4 separate regions of the Homo sapiens genome follow, and regions 1, 2 and 4 are each linked to region 3. Evidence: promoter capture Hi-C in human tissues and cell types (Jung and others, 2019). All regions are on one chromosome and are shown on one strand. Each heading gives the region's core, a stretch centred on a gene start or on the middle of the fragment in contact. The rest is flanking DNA. Distances are from core to core; before and after follow the strand shown.

What was found. Contacts are between HindIII fragments. The study calls those that stand out against the background at their distance.
Region 1: a contact is called between the fragment with the promoter of RNF213 here and the fragment with the promoter of BAIAP2 in region 3, in 1 of the 25 tissues and cell types used here (liver).
Region 2: a fragment that was not itself captured here is called in contact with the fragment with the promoter of BAIAP2 in region 3 in 2 of the 25 tissues and cell types used here (dorsolateral prefrontal cortex and lymphoblastoid cells).
Region 4: a contact is called between the fragment with the promoter of NPTX1 here and the fragment with the promoter of BAIAP2 in region 3, in 3 of the 25 tissues and cell types used here (dorsolateral prefrontal cortex, lymphoblastoid cells and spleen).

What each region holds. Positions count from the first base shown.
Region 1 is chr17:80,259,121-80,262,316 of GRCh38, reverse strand. It overlaps RNF213 (ring finger protein 213), which reads right to left and starts at 1,465. Exons shown (of 68, transcript NM_001256071.3): 1 at 1,415-1,465. RefSeq lists silencers at 588-727, 1,108-1,457, 1,737-2,086. The HindIII fragment of the contact is 8,363 bases long and covers 1-3,196 here.
Region 2 is chr17:80,369,779-80,373,304 of GRCh38, reverse strand. It overlaps RNF213 (ring finger protein 213), which reads right to left. Exons shown (of 68, transcript NM_001256071.3): 46 at 3,438-3,526; 47 at 1,320-1,431; 48 at 571-784; 49 at 140-330. All of the region lies in intron 1 of RNF213-AS1 (RNF213 antisense RNA 1), which reads left to right. Among named protein-coding and RNA genes, the nearest start is that of ENDOV, 44 kb to the left of the region's middle. RefSeq lists an enhancer at 338-1,537. The HindIII fragment of the contact is 5,086 bases long and covers 1-3,526 here.
Region 3 is chr17:81,033,471-81,036,637 of GRCh38, reverse strand. It overlaps BAIAP2 (BAR/IMD domain containing adaptor protein 2), which reads right to left and starts at 1,487. Exons shown (of 14, transcript NM_001144888.2): 1 at 1,330-1,487. The coding sequence starts at 1,383. It overlaps BAIAP2-DT (BAIAP2 divergent transcript), which reads left to right and starts at 1,919. Exons shown (of 2, transcript NR_026857.1): 1 at 1,919-2,073. RefSeq lists an enhancer at 675-1,670 and a silencer at 1,542-1,851. The HindIII fragment of the contact is 14,233 bases long and covers 1-3,167 here.
Region 4 is chr17:80,474,731-80,478,214 of GRCh38, reverse strand. NPTX1 (neuronal pentraxin 1) reads left to right here and starts at 1,608. Exons shown (of 5, transcript NM_002522.4): 1 at 1,608-2,212; 2 at 2,497-2,704. The coding sequence starts at 1,769. RefSeq lists an enhancer at 2,621-3,154. The HindIII fragment of the contact is 30,247 bases long and covers 1-3,484 here.

The DNA of each region.
Region 1 (3,196 bases), core at 216-2,715, 770 kb after region 3:
CATCCCTTTTCTCCAGGTCTGCTGCCCTTTTATTCCAGAGACTAAAATTATCTCTCCTTCAGAGTAGAAGGAGAGTTTAAAACTCCCCTACCCCTGCCACAGCCAAGCCCTGGCTCCCACCGTACCTCCTCCCCTCCACACTCTACCTGAAACAACCACCAGTGGACACTCCCTCCCTCAAACACCTTCAATGACTCCCCACCGCCCAGGCCTCTTTCTTTCCACCCGAAGTGTTTCCTTCTCCAATGCTACACTGGGGAACCACAGACCAGAAAACTCGAAAAATCCTCCAAAAAGCATTTTTTGTTTGTTTGACAGTTTCACCCAGGCTGGAGTACAGTGGGCAATCTCAGCTCACTGCAACCTCCGCCTCCCGGGCTCTAGCGATTCTCCCGCCTCAGTCTCCCAAGTAGGTGGAGTTACAGGCATGCGCCACCACACCCGGCTAATTTTTTGTGTTTTTAGTAGAAACGGGGTTTCATGTTGGCCAGGCTGGTCTCGAACTCCCGACCTCAGGTGACCCACCCGCCTTGGCCTCCCAAAGTTTTGGGATTACAGGCATTAGCCACTGCGCCCGGCCCCCTAAAGCATCTTATTGTTCCATCTGCTCTAGGGGCCGGAAGACACAAGAGAGAGCCCCAGGCACCCAACACTGTTGCATTCAATCCGCTTCCTGTCTTTTCTCTGACATTTTTTCCCAAGCACAGACACTGCCACCCAAATCAAAGCCCATCCCCCAACCACAACCAAAGTCAACAAGGTGGGGGCAGGGAAGGGCCACCACCATGTTTGCACAGCTCCTTCCCCTCCCGCCCTGGACTCCCCCAGGGCCCGGCCCGCCGGCTTGCAGGCAGCCATCCGGGAGGGGTGCCCACCCTGGCCTTGAGCCCCGCGCTCGGGCGACTTCGCCAAGTCGGAAGGACGCTGCGCGGTGCGGTTCAGACGGGGCGATGCCTCCCTCGTAAAAGTTAGGAGTCTGTTTTTGCAACTTCACTTTTCCGTTGTTGCCATTCGTACAGGCGCAGGATTCCCGGGCGGACCTGCAGGCCCGGGTCCGGCTGTCCCCTTCCACTACACCCCCCGTGCCCCGGCCACTTCCCGGGGGCAGCACTGCCGGGGCGCAAAGCCTCCTCCGCGCTCTGCGCTCCGGGGATGTCGCCGGGGTCCCAGGCGTGCCCGCTGCCCCCACCCCGACCCCTCCCGCAGCCGGGGAACAGGGTCAGTGGGCGCCGCGGGCGGGGCTGGACCGGGCACCCCGGCGGCGAAACCGAAACTTGGAGCCGGCAGGAAGAGGCGGCCGGGAGGGGCATCCGGACGCAGGCGCCGCTCCCCGGGACCCGGCCCGCCGGCCCGCGGGGCCCACTGTATCCTAGCCCGCTCCCCGCCCCGGGAGACTCTCCAGGCCCGCTCGCACCTGCGGCCCCCGAGCTCGCCGCCTGCCGCGCGCTGTCGCCCCTCGGGTCACGGGGCCCTGGGCCCCGCCCTGCCCGCCGCCGCCGCCGCCGGCCCCGCCCTGCCCGCCGCCGCCGCCGCCGGCCCCGCCCTGCCCGCCGCCGCCGCCGCCGGCCCCGCCCTGCCCGCCGCCGCCGCCGCCGGCCCCGCCCTGCCCGCCGCCGCCGCCGCCGGCCCCGCCCTGCCCGCCGCCGCCGCCGCCGGCCCCGCCCTGCCCGCCGCCGCCGCCGCCGGCCCCGCCCTGCCCGCCGCCGCCGCCGCCGGCCCCGCCCTGCCCGCCGCCGCCGCCGCCGGCCCCGCCCTGCCCGCCGCCGCCGCCGCCGGCCCCGCCCTGCCCGCCGCCGCCGCCGGCCCCGCGCAGGCGTGTGCGGAATTCCCCGCCGGTGGCGCCTCCCAGTGACTCCGGGCCCCCAGCCCCCGGGAGGCGCCTCGGGCCGCTGCGCGCCGGGTACAGACGCGGGAGGGGCCTCGGTTCCCGCCAGGCGTGGGGCGCATGCGGGTCTCCCGGAAGCCCAGACCCCGGGCAGGCCCGAGCAGCCGAGTGGGGCGGGACAGGCGCGCCCCCCGCCCCGGCGCCCAGCACCTCGGACAGTGTCTGCGGCCGCGCAGAGCCGGCGGCCAGCCTGGGAGCGGCCCAGAGGGCGCCCGGCGGGTGCAGTGGACGTCGTCAGCGCGCCGCGTGGGGGCCTTTGCAGATTAAGGGACCTCCGCGGCCCCGCGCGGAGCGCTCTGTCACTGATGATGGAGGGGCCACGGCGGTCCGCACCATCCCCCGTGCCTCAGTTTTCCCATCTGTGAGGCTCATGGTGTGACCAGGGACCTCCGTTTTAAAATCACCCACTTTCTTTTTCTTCCTTCTCCTCTCACCCCTTCATCCCGTCCCTCTCTGGACACTGCGCCCCTCTGCGCATTCCAGAGGGGACCCTCATCCTGAAACAATTCCCGGCGCGGAACCCCAGCTGAATGCTCCTGCTTGGGGCGGGGGGTCGCCAACAATTAGTCCAACATCCTCGACAGCCACCCCTCCTAACCGACAACTGCCCACGACAGCCATGGGAACAAGACACAGACCCTGCCCTTACCCCACTCCCCACGGTGCCCACGGCAAGTTTCCCTAGAAGAACTCGATGGCAGCCTGGGCAACATAGAGAGACCCCATCTCTACAAAAAAAATCATTTAAAAAAATTAGCTGGGCGTGGTGGTGCACCTGAAGAGGCTGAGGCAAGAGGATCGTTTGAGCCCAGGGAGCTCCAGGCTGCAGTGAGTCGTGATCATACCACTGCACTCCAGCCTGGATGACAAAGTGAGATCTTGCCTCAAAAACTAACAAACACACAAAACCTGAGGATAAATTTTTAATTTTAGGGTGGCACTTTATTTATTGTTTGTTTGTTTTTTGGAGACAGTCTCACTCTATACCCCAGGCTGGAGTGCAGTGGCGTGATCTTGGCTCACTGCAAACTCCACCTCCCAGTTCAAGTGATTCTCATGCCTCAGCCTCCCGAGTAGCTGGGATTACAAGCGCCCGCCACCAAGCCTGGCTAATTTTTGTATTTTTAGTAGAGACGGGGTTTCTCCATGTTGGCCAGGGTGGTCTCAAACTCCTGACCTCAGGTGATCCACCTGCCTTGGCCTCCCAAAGTGCTGGAATTACAGGCATGAGCCACTGCGCCCAGCCAAGGTGACACTTTAGAACGCTAGTTGGGCATCTTCTCGCTTTGCTGGGTCTCCAATTAAAACCTG
Region 2 (3,526 bases), core at 349-2,848, 660 kb after region 3:
TATGAGGGTATGTGGTGGGGAAGGTGTGAGGGGGTGGGGTGTGGGGGGGGTAGGGTGTGAGGGTAGGGGGGTGTGTGGGTTTGGGGTGTATGGGGCTGTGGGGGTGCATGTTTGTGTGCTGCCCGGCCCCGCTTCTCACCTGCTGCTTGACAACGTCCTTGGGAAACACCCACTGGTGCGGGCGGCCGGGCTTGGAGAGGCCCTGCACGAACTCCATCCCCCGCTGGCTGCTGAGCTTCCGCACCAGGTACACCCGGTGCCAGTCGTTCTCCACCCGGATACAGAACTGCTTGACTTGCTGCAGGTAGCACTGCTTCTCCTTGGCCATCTCTGAGAGGCCAACGAGAAAGCGGGTGAGTGGCTGGTGACTTAGGGCATTTATTGTAGGACACAAGGCCAACCAGAGGGCATCGGACCTACCCACAGGCATTCACAGAAACACATCCAGGGGAGAGGGGATGTAGAAAAGCCCAGTAGTAGTCTATTCGAAGAACTAGTTTCCCATACTTCCTGAATTTCTAAATAACGGAGTCTTTAAACCCAAAGGAAAGCAAGGCAGAGAAGACTTGCCTGGGCCTCCCTCAGGCTCCGAGAGGAAATCTGCAGCTCTGTCGAGGCAGAGGCGGATCCGGGCCACCTCTTGCAGGTATTCAACCGAGGCCTCGTTGGCAGGCTCTCGGCCCCGGCTTGCTGGAGAATATGCCTTAAGGAAACGACCTTCCTCTTCTAGGTGGTTCAGTTCATCATTTCTGGAGTAAGCACTGGTCTTCTCAAGTATTGAATCCTGAGGAACAAGGAACAAGAAAGAAAAGGATATTATTTTTTTAAACATGGATGCCCCAAGCTTCTACAGTCGCCAATGTGACTGTGGAGAAGGAAGGATAGAAGAATGTTACTGTAGGTTTCAGTGTAAATTTCTTGACTTATGGAAACCTAACATTCCTTTTTATTTTAAGGACAAGAAGGAGGGGAAAAGTGAACCTATGAGGAAAAAAAATTATCTAATTTATTTACATTATAAAAATTTTGGATATAAAAATATGAAGATAAAAAGTATCCATAATGTCCCCACTCAATGATAACCACTGTTAACTTTGGCAGTATATTCTCCTAGGCTGTTCTGTTTTGTATGTATATGCAAGTAAATGCCAAAATATACGTTGCTGAAGGCAGAAGCCGCGTCTTTGAAACCTTTCTTCTTTTCTGCACGGAACAGAGCATTCGTTAATTATACTGACTAAAATTATATTCTGTAAATTTTAAACCATGTGGTTCAGATAGTTTCCAAAAGAAATTCAGGGAAGAGAGAGTTCACTTACCTCCAGGCAGTTGATGAAGAGCATGTACAGTTCAGTTTTATCTTCAGTTATGAATGCTTTCTTTTTTAACAGGGTCAAATATTCCTGAATATAATCTTTTACATCATGAAAGCTGCAGAAAGAGAAATATTATTCCTGGTTCTCTCAGATCTGGAGACATACCTTACTAAAAAAAAGAGCATCTATCTATCGGTCGTCTGTCCTGTGTGTGTGTGTGTATAAACATATACATACATATACGTGGTTTCTAAGATTTTATGGAAAACCTTTTAGCATAATACTGGAGGAATATAAAACTCACATTTTAGACCAGCTGTCCTCAAACTTTGGTTTCAGGACCCCTTTATAGTCTTAAAAATTGAGAACCCCGAAGAGCTTTTATGTGGGTTATATTATCAATATTTATGATATTAGGAATTATGAGACATTAAAAACAAAAGGTTTCAAAAATATACATTCATTTAAAATAACAATAAAGCTATTACATGTTAAATAACATTTAAAATATTTTCCAAAACATGAATCCGTGAGAAGAGTGGTTTGGTCTTCCATTCCTGTGCTGGCCCTGGGGCCTGGCTCCTGGAAGTCAGCGGCCTGCCTGCCCTGCTCCCCATCGCTGCAGCATATGGGAGAACATGAAGAAAATCTGTCCTCATATACTCGGAATAGCGAGGAACATTTTAATAGTTTTTGCAGCTGATTGTGGCTATTATTCCTTAATGCTGTGCCCACAGTGATAAATGGTCATGTCTAGAGGTTAGTTGCAATGTGGAGCCTGAAACTGTATCAGTGCATTTTTCAGTCAATTATGTTAAAATCAAAAAGGTCTGCCCATACTTTAAATAGATTTTTTTCTTTTTTGACCCACATGATTTCATGACATCAGGCATTGGTCATTTGGAAAATATTGGTTCACTGGGCTGTGCAGGTCTTGTAAAGGTTGACACATTTGTATTCTACGTTTTAAAAAAAAAAATCCATATTCATTAATATCACCACAAATTGCCCCAAAATGTCTTTAAGTATTCAAAAGCTCACAAGCTCATAGTGGAGAATATAAGCTTTTCAAAATTTTAATTTCAGCTTAAAAGCTTGAATGTTATCATCACCAACCAACATTGTCAGTTGTTTGGCTGAGGCTGGCTCACTTTGCTGATTTCCAGGAGAGGCCTGCCCAGCCCTGGACACCTGTATCATGTGCATCCTTCCTCCCAGCACGGGTGGCGGTCCATGAACACAGCAGCCGGCTGATAACCCAGGGCTTGTCATGAGTGATTTTCTGTGAGGCAACTGTCTACTCCGGTGTGTAGTGGGAGTGTTTTGTGTGTGCTTCCCATTTCCACAAAACGTTGAAAAGTCAAATCCTCAAGAGTCAAGATTTAGTAAAACTAAAATGAAACTGGCATGAAGAAAACCACGTGTGCATGGCGGTGAAGAAAACAATACCTCCAGCTACTGTGTCTTCACGTGAGGGGCCAGCAGTTTAACTCATCACCGCTTTTTGTAACATCATCATAAGTATCAACATGTTTTTTAAAAAAGGGCAAATTTATCTTAGTAATCTAATTTTTAAAATAGTTTTAACCTCAGAGACCTACCTCACACCCAAGGGTCCATACCAACACTTTGAGAACTGCAATATTAGATCCATACAAGTACCACAGGTGATACTATTCTTGGATGTCAACATCCTTTCCAAGGAAATAGAGCCCATGTTCAGGGGAATAGAAACTTAGGAGACATCTAGGACATTCAGGGTGAGCAGGATTCTAAGCTACCATCTGAAAAATCAGAAAGTTGCGCTGCTGTGGAACCAGGCTCAGCACCACAGATTCTGGCCTCTTGAGTTCCATGTCCCTCACGCCACTGTGGTCCCTTCACGGCACTGTTGGCTTCTTGCTAGATGCGTGTGCTTGTGGGAATACTAAACTCATGTGCCTATATGTGAAAATGTCAGAATACACAACCAGTACAAGTAACCAGGCTGTGTCTCACCGAAAAAGCTCCCCAAGATCATGTACTAGCTACTAGTCACGACAAGAAGACTTGGTAACAAAACGCTGCGATGAAGAGAAAAAGCCAGGGCTTTCCAGAAGCAAGTCTCCATGTTGTTCTTACCTGTACTTCAAAAGCAGTTTCAGTATCACTGAGCGGATGACAGGAGTCTTATCCACAACATCATTGAATGGAGAGAGAGATTTTGTGTG
Region 3 (3,167 bases), core at 238-2,737:
TAGTCGACCGCACACCCGCCTTCAGAAACCTTCCAGACTGACGCGGCCCCAACTTCACAAGCTTTATTGAAAGCTGTATTCAAGTGCAATCGGCCCCCTGCACTCCAGCTGGAACCAGAGGGGCCACCCCTGAAGCCTCCATCTGGCTCTCCCAAGCCTGAGAGCTAAGAGGGCTTCCCAGGCCCCTGGCCAGGCACGCCTTGGCCGCCTACCACAATCAGAAACAGTTACTCTGCCGGGCAGGGTGCAAGCCGGTTAGGAAACATGAACCAGCGACTGCCGGGTAAATACCCACTCCACTCATCGCCCAGCCTGTCACTGAACCTGCAGACAGTTTTGAAACAAAGCACATCTGTAAGAGATCGCCCAGGACCCAGGGACACCCAGAGCAGGGGTTTCTCCTCTGAGAAAATGCTCCCCGGCAGCTGCCGGGCTCAGGCGTGGGGGTCTGGACCGAGAACGGATGCTGAAGAAAGAGAAAACCAAGGGCCTGTTTGTCGGTATCCCAGCCACAAAAACGACTGGGGAGGGGGCGGCAGGGGAGGCTTCCAGCGGTGCTCTGCGGCCCTTGGATGTGAACCTGTCATTTCGCAGACGAGAACGTGGATGCCACTCTTAACACATCTGAAGCAAAGGCAGGCACGTCAGCCTCCTACACAATTAGTCTTCTCTCTCCGCGGTTACATAAGATGATAGATTATCCGTCCACCCATCCAGCCTGCCCGCGCTCCGACCTCCCACCTTAGGCCCCAGCATGGGCGCCGGGCAGGAGTTGTGGGAAGGGAAAGCCTGTTGAGAATGAAGTGCCCGAGGCTCGCGCAACCGCGCCTGGAGGAGCCCCACGGTGCCACCGCGCCGACCGCGGCCTTCAGACAGCCCCCATGCCGTCCTGGCCGCCGCAACCCCTGGGCCCGCCGCCCCCGCCGCCCCGGCCCTGCCCGGGTGTGCTACGACCCCGACCGGTCCGAGGGCTTCCGGGGCCCGGCGCGCGGCTCCGTTCCCGCCGACGCCAAGGCGAGCGCGCGGGGGCCGAGCAGGGCCGTCGGAGCGGGGAGTGCTCCCCGGGCCTGGGGCTGGGGACTGACCGGGCCGCGGCGCGCATGGGATGGGGGGGCCCGGGCGGGGGTGGCCACCTGTGAGCGGCCGGCGCCGGGCTCACCACCCCAGCAGCCCGGGTCCCGGGTGGCCGCGCCGGGAAGACCCCCAAAGTCCCAGCCTCCTGGCCCGGCGCGCGGCCCCGGGGCCGCCCTGGTCGGGCTCGGGCGCGCGGGCGGCGCGCGACCCAGGCGCACACGGAGCGGGCTCAGCTCGGCGCCGGGGGGCGCTCACCTTATAGACATTTTCCGTGAGCCGGTGCATCTCCTCTGAGCGAGACAGAGACATGGTCCTGGGTCCCGGCTGCACCACAGACCGGAGCGGGGGACGCAAGCGGCGGCAGCAGCGGCGGTAACGGCAGCAGGACGGAGACGAAAGCGGACCCGAACCACAGAGCCCGGCGTCCGGCGGCGGCCACCTTTATAGCCGCCTCAGGCCCCGCCCCGCGGCAGTCCCCGCCCCTGCGTCCCGCCCCCGTTGCGCCCGCATCACCGCCCCCGACCACCCGCCCCCGCCCGGCGCTGCCGCTGCTAGGCAACCGCCAGGCCCCGCCCCCGCACCGCCCTTTCCATTGGTGGGTTCCGGAGAAGGGGGAGGGGGGCGGGATCGGAGGTGGGGCCTAGTGGCCGACTCCAGGCAGCGATTGGTCTGCGGCGGCGTCGATCCTGGGGGAGGAGAGGGGAGGCGCGGCGCGGGCTGGGGCCCTGGGAGCAGCCTGAGGGGGCCCGGGCAACAGCCGGGCTGGGGGCGGGGAGGCGGGGGCGGGGTGGCGCAGGAAGAAGGAGCAGAAGGTGCGGGGAGGAGAGCGGGGGGCGCCGGCGGCAGCGCGCGTGGAGGCGGCACTTCGCGAAGTGGCACTTCGGGGCGGGCGGCCCGCCGGGTCGCGGCCTGGCGCTGCGGGGCGGGGAGCGGCTCGGACGCAGGACGCCGCGGGCCGGGCTTACAGGTGGGAGAGGCCCCGACCCCGCCGCTTCGCAGGTAAGCCCGCCGGGCGGGCGGCGACCCCCCGGCCGGCCCCTCGGGGCAGAGAGGAGAACCCTGGGGGAGGGGGTGCTGCAGGAGGACCCTGGAGAGAGCTCGGCCCTGGAGTGGGGGACGACTTGGAGAAGGAGGATTTCGGGGGAGCATCGTGAGGAGAGGACTTGGAGGGAGGATCCTGCAGAAGGTGAACTCTGGGGAGGACCCCAGACAGGCAGACAGCGCTTGGGGGCTTGGGGCCGGGATTCTGGAGAGGGGAGGACCCTGGGAGAGGAGGGTTGGGGAAGAGGATCTTGGAGGAGGGCCCTGGGAAGGAGGATCTGGAGAGGGGACAGGGGAGTGTCCTGCTGGAAGGCCTGGGGACAGGGCGACCCTTAGGGACGGGGAGGACCCTCCTGCCGTCAGAAGATTCTCGTTGGAGGCAGTTTACTGAGAGAGAGAGGTCTCGGGAAGGAAGGGTCGAGGGCAGTAGGAAACGAGGGGCCCGGAGGACTCTCATGCGGTGGAAAGCCCTAGGGGGTGGGGGAACCTTGTAGGAGGAATGGAGGAGTCAGAGCTGCCTCCAATTTTTAGGAAGGGTCCTGCTTAAGGGTCCTCCCAAGGGGAGATTCTGCCGGGGAAGCTGGCCGAGTTGGCACACAGGTCTCCCGGTACAATTCCCGTGGAGAAATATTTACATAAATTAGGCTAACATAGAGGAATTATTTGTTTTACGTTGTGAAACACCAGATCTGAGCGTTTCCGTTTAATGAAACCTCTCAGTCTCCCAGCCTCCCATCCCTGCAAAATCATTCATTCATTCATTCCTTCAACGAGTCAGGCCCCTGGGGGAGACGCAGTTGTGCTGGCTGGCCGGCAGATCCCCAGACTGGCACGGGCTCAGGCCGATGGAAAGACCAGGGAAGTAAGATTCAGGAAGCATTGCCTCCCTCCCACCACAGCCCCGCGCCTCCTCTCCTCCGGCTGAATTTCCTTCCAGCTACTGGCCCTGGCTGCTTCCTTTTTCTTTATTGTCTCCAGTGTTTGGGGGTAGATCCCTGTGTATTTATTTTCTAGGATTCTTTTGGTGGTAAATGACAGAAAGCTCGCTCAAA
Region 4 (3,484 bases), core at 359-2,858, 560 kb after region 3:
TGCGGGCCGCGGGGTCCCTCTGGCGCCAGGAAGCGGCGGCCGAAGGAGACAACGAGAACGCAGCCCCGGCTCAGGGAGGCTTAAAAGCTGAGATGCTGAACGCAGACGGCGGGCGCTCGGGGGCTGGGGGGCGGGTAGAGGCCGCCATTTCTCAAAAAGGTCTCCATCGAGCCGGCCTCTGCTCCCGCCCGAGGGGCGGACGCCCGATCCCGGCACCCGGGACTGCCCGTGGGTCCCTGCTGGCTGGGGACCCCCAGCCCCCGGCTGCGCGCAGGGAAAGGCTGCAGAACGCAGAGACCAGAGAAGCCGGGGGCGGCGGGGAGGGGTCGGGGGGCCACGGCTGTAGCCCGGCCCCGCAGTCTCGGAGCCTCAGTTTCCTTCTCTGTACCACGGGAGCGTGGACGGAGGGATTTCCGAGGCTTTGACCGCTCTGATAGCCCCGGGGCGGGGCGGGGCGGGGCGGCTGCGCCAGCCCTGGTCCTGAGCCCCCAGCCCGGCGCCGGAACCCGGACCGCGATCTCGGGAGCCGAGCCCCGCGGTCCAGATGAAGGCGCGAGTGCGCGGGTGCCGGGTGGGGTGTCTGAGCGAGAGCGGAGCTTCTCAGGTGGACGCCCCCAGCCACCTCCGGGACCCTTCCTGCTGGCCTTTGGGCCTGAGAAGTGGGCGCGGCTGGACAGACGGGAAACAGCCCCCCACGCACAGGTGGACACCCGGGGATACCGGGCGCGCGCGGCGCCTGGCAAGGGGAAGCTGCTGGAGACGCGGGCGGCTGCTCCCGCGGGGCCCCCTTCCGAAGCGCCGCTGCGAACGTCCAGCCCCGGCGACGCCGCCTGCCCGCGATCGGGCCGGCGCCGCGGACAGGAAAGGCTCGATCAGCTAGGTCTGCCTCCGAGAAGTCCCCAGCGCCCCGCCCGCACGGGGTGGGGACTGACAGTCCCCCGGGGACGGGGCCGGGTCCACAGAGCCCGGGAGCTGGGGGAGGGGAGGCGCCGGGGGCCCCGACCCGTGGGAAGTCCCTGTACCCAGGCTGCCCGGCGGCTTCTCAATAGCACACGGACATCTAAGAAACGCGGGGCGGCCCGGTGACCCCCGCTCTGGACTTAGTGGCGCCGCGAGGCCCCACTCCGAGCCGTTGACCACCGGGCACTCGGGTGTTGACGACCTGGGTCCTTGGGCACCCAGCCCGGCTCCAAACGACCCCGGCCCAAGGGTGTTCAGTGCAGCCAGGAGGGCCGAACCGAATTCTATCTCCCGGACGCGGTGGTTTCCCGCCCGCCTGGAGCCCCGTCGGAGGTTCGGGGACACCACGCAGGTGGTCCATCCTCGAGTCCGGGGCCGGAGCCCGACTTCCTTCCCCCTGAGCTCTCGGAGCCTTCGGGGCAGCAGCGCCGGCCCAGGCGGGGGCGGGGGAGGAGGGGGCCGCGGCAGCTCCCAGAAGGGCGGGGGGGACGCGAGCGGAGGCAGCCCCGGTGGCGCGCTCGTGAGACCCCCGCCGCGCCGCGGGCCCGGGCCGCGGACAATTAAAGCGGGATTCCTCCCCCGCTGACGTCGGCGGCTCGAGGCCCCTCCCGCGGCGGCATAAAAGGCGCGGGCTCCGCAGCGCAGGCGGCAGTGGGGGCCTGATAGCGCGGCGGTGTGGACCGCGCGGCCGAAGAGCGCGGCGCCCAGAGCGCGGGCCGCTCGCGGAGCCACAGCCCGAGCCGGGTCCCAGCCGGAGCCGAGCCCCAGCCGAGCCGAGCCGGGCCCGGAGCGCCCGGTGCCCGCAGCCATGCCGGCCGGCCGCGCCGCGCGCACCTGTGCGCTGCTCGCCCTCTGCCTCCTGGGCGCCGGGGCCCAGGATTTCGGGCCGACGCGCTTCATCTGCACCTCGGTGCCCGTGGACGCCGACATGTGCGCCGCGTCCGTGGCCGCCGGCGGCGCCGAGGAGCTCCGGAGCAGCGTGCTGCAGCTCCGCGAGACGGTGCTGCAGCAGAAGGAGACCATCCTGAGCCAGAAGGAGACCATCCGCGAGCTGACCGCCAAGCTGGGCCGCTGCGAGAGCCAGAGCACGCTGGACCCCGGAGCCGGCGAGGCCCGGGCGGGCGGCGGCCGCAAGCAGCCCGGCTCGGGCAAGAACACCATGGGCGACCTGTCCCGGACACCGGCCGCCGAGACGCTCAGCCAACTCGGGCAAACTTTGCAATCGCTCAAAACCCGCCTGGAGAACCTCGAGGTCCGCGCGCGCCCTCGGCTCCGGTTCCCCCTCCGGCTCGCTCGCCCCTCTGCCCTCCCCCACCCCGTTCCCTACCCGGCCAGGCATCCCCCGCCCTCGCCTCAGCCGCGCGGGTGCCCGGCCGGTGCCTCCCCGCGCCTGCGAGGCCCCGCGGCGGCCACTCGCCCCAGCTCCCTGCCAGGCCGCCCCCGCAGTCGCCCAGAGGGGACCGCGCCGCGGGCCTTCCAGCACGGTCCCCGCGCCTCGCCTAACGGTGTGGTTTCCCCCGCCCTTGCACCCCGCAGCAGTACAGCCGCCTCAATTCCTCCAGCCAGACCAACAGCCTCAAGGATCTGCTGCAGAGCAAGATCGATGAGCTGGAGAGGCAGGTGCTGTCCCGGGTGAACACCCTGGAGGAGGGCAAGGGGGGCCCCAGGAACGACACCGAGGAGAGGGTCAAGATCGAGACCGCCCTGACCTCCCTGCACCAGCGGATCAGCGAGCTCGAGAAAGGTACTGGGGCCAGGGGGAGCCGTGCTGCCTGCCTGCACCTGCTTGCCCGACCCTGCCTCGGTCCCGATCCCTAACAGCCCAGCTCTGCACTGTGCAAGCCTCAAGCCGCTCCGCTACCCCCAACCCCTGCACCGCTTTCTCATTCCCCGCACCCCTTCCCAGGTTCTGGGCTTCTAGTCGGTGTTTCTATCAGGGCTGGGTGCCTTGGGCTGGGGCTGTCTCTGGGAAAGGGGATTGCATAGTGCCCCCTCCCCCATCCAGACACACTCACACACTCGCTGGATTTTTCAAGTCTGATTTGTTTAATCCTCAGTAACTTTGCACAGTGGCTGTCGCTGGCTCAAACCCTCCCTGCTTAAGAAAGCCTGTCTCTCCCTGGTCCCCAGCCTCAGCGTACAGCTGGGTGCAGGCTGGGGCTGGGCGCTCTCGTTCCCCGGGCCGCTGAGGCTGTTAAGCAGGTTTCTTCCCGGCTGCCATGCCCCCGGTGTCCTCTCAGGATCTCCAGCTCCTCCCCACTTCTGTCCTGAACCCCTACCCTGAGGTTTTCTTTTCTGAGTGACCCAAGTCCTGGCATCTTTCAAATCCCTGAGGTTTCTCAGTCACCAACTCAGGCCAGCCAGTCTATCACCCAGGGCGCCTGGATGAGCGCTGGAGGCTCTGTCTTGAAGTCGCAGAAATCAAACAAGGTTGTAAAAGGGGAGGGGGGGGGGTGCCCGGTGCGGAGCAAGGCCACGTGACCCTGCTCAGACCGCAAAATGTGCCGGACAGATTTAAACAGTG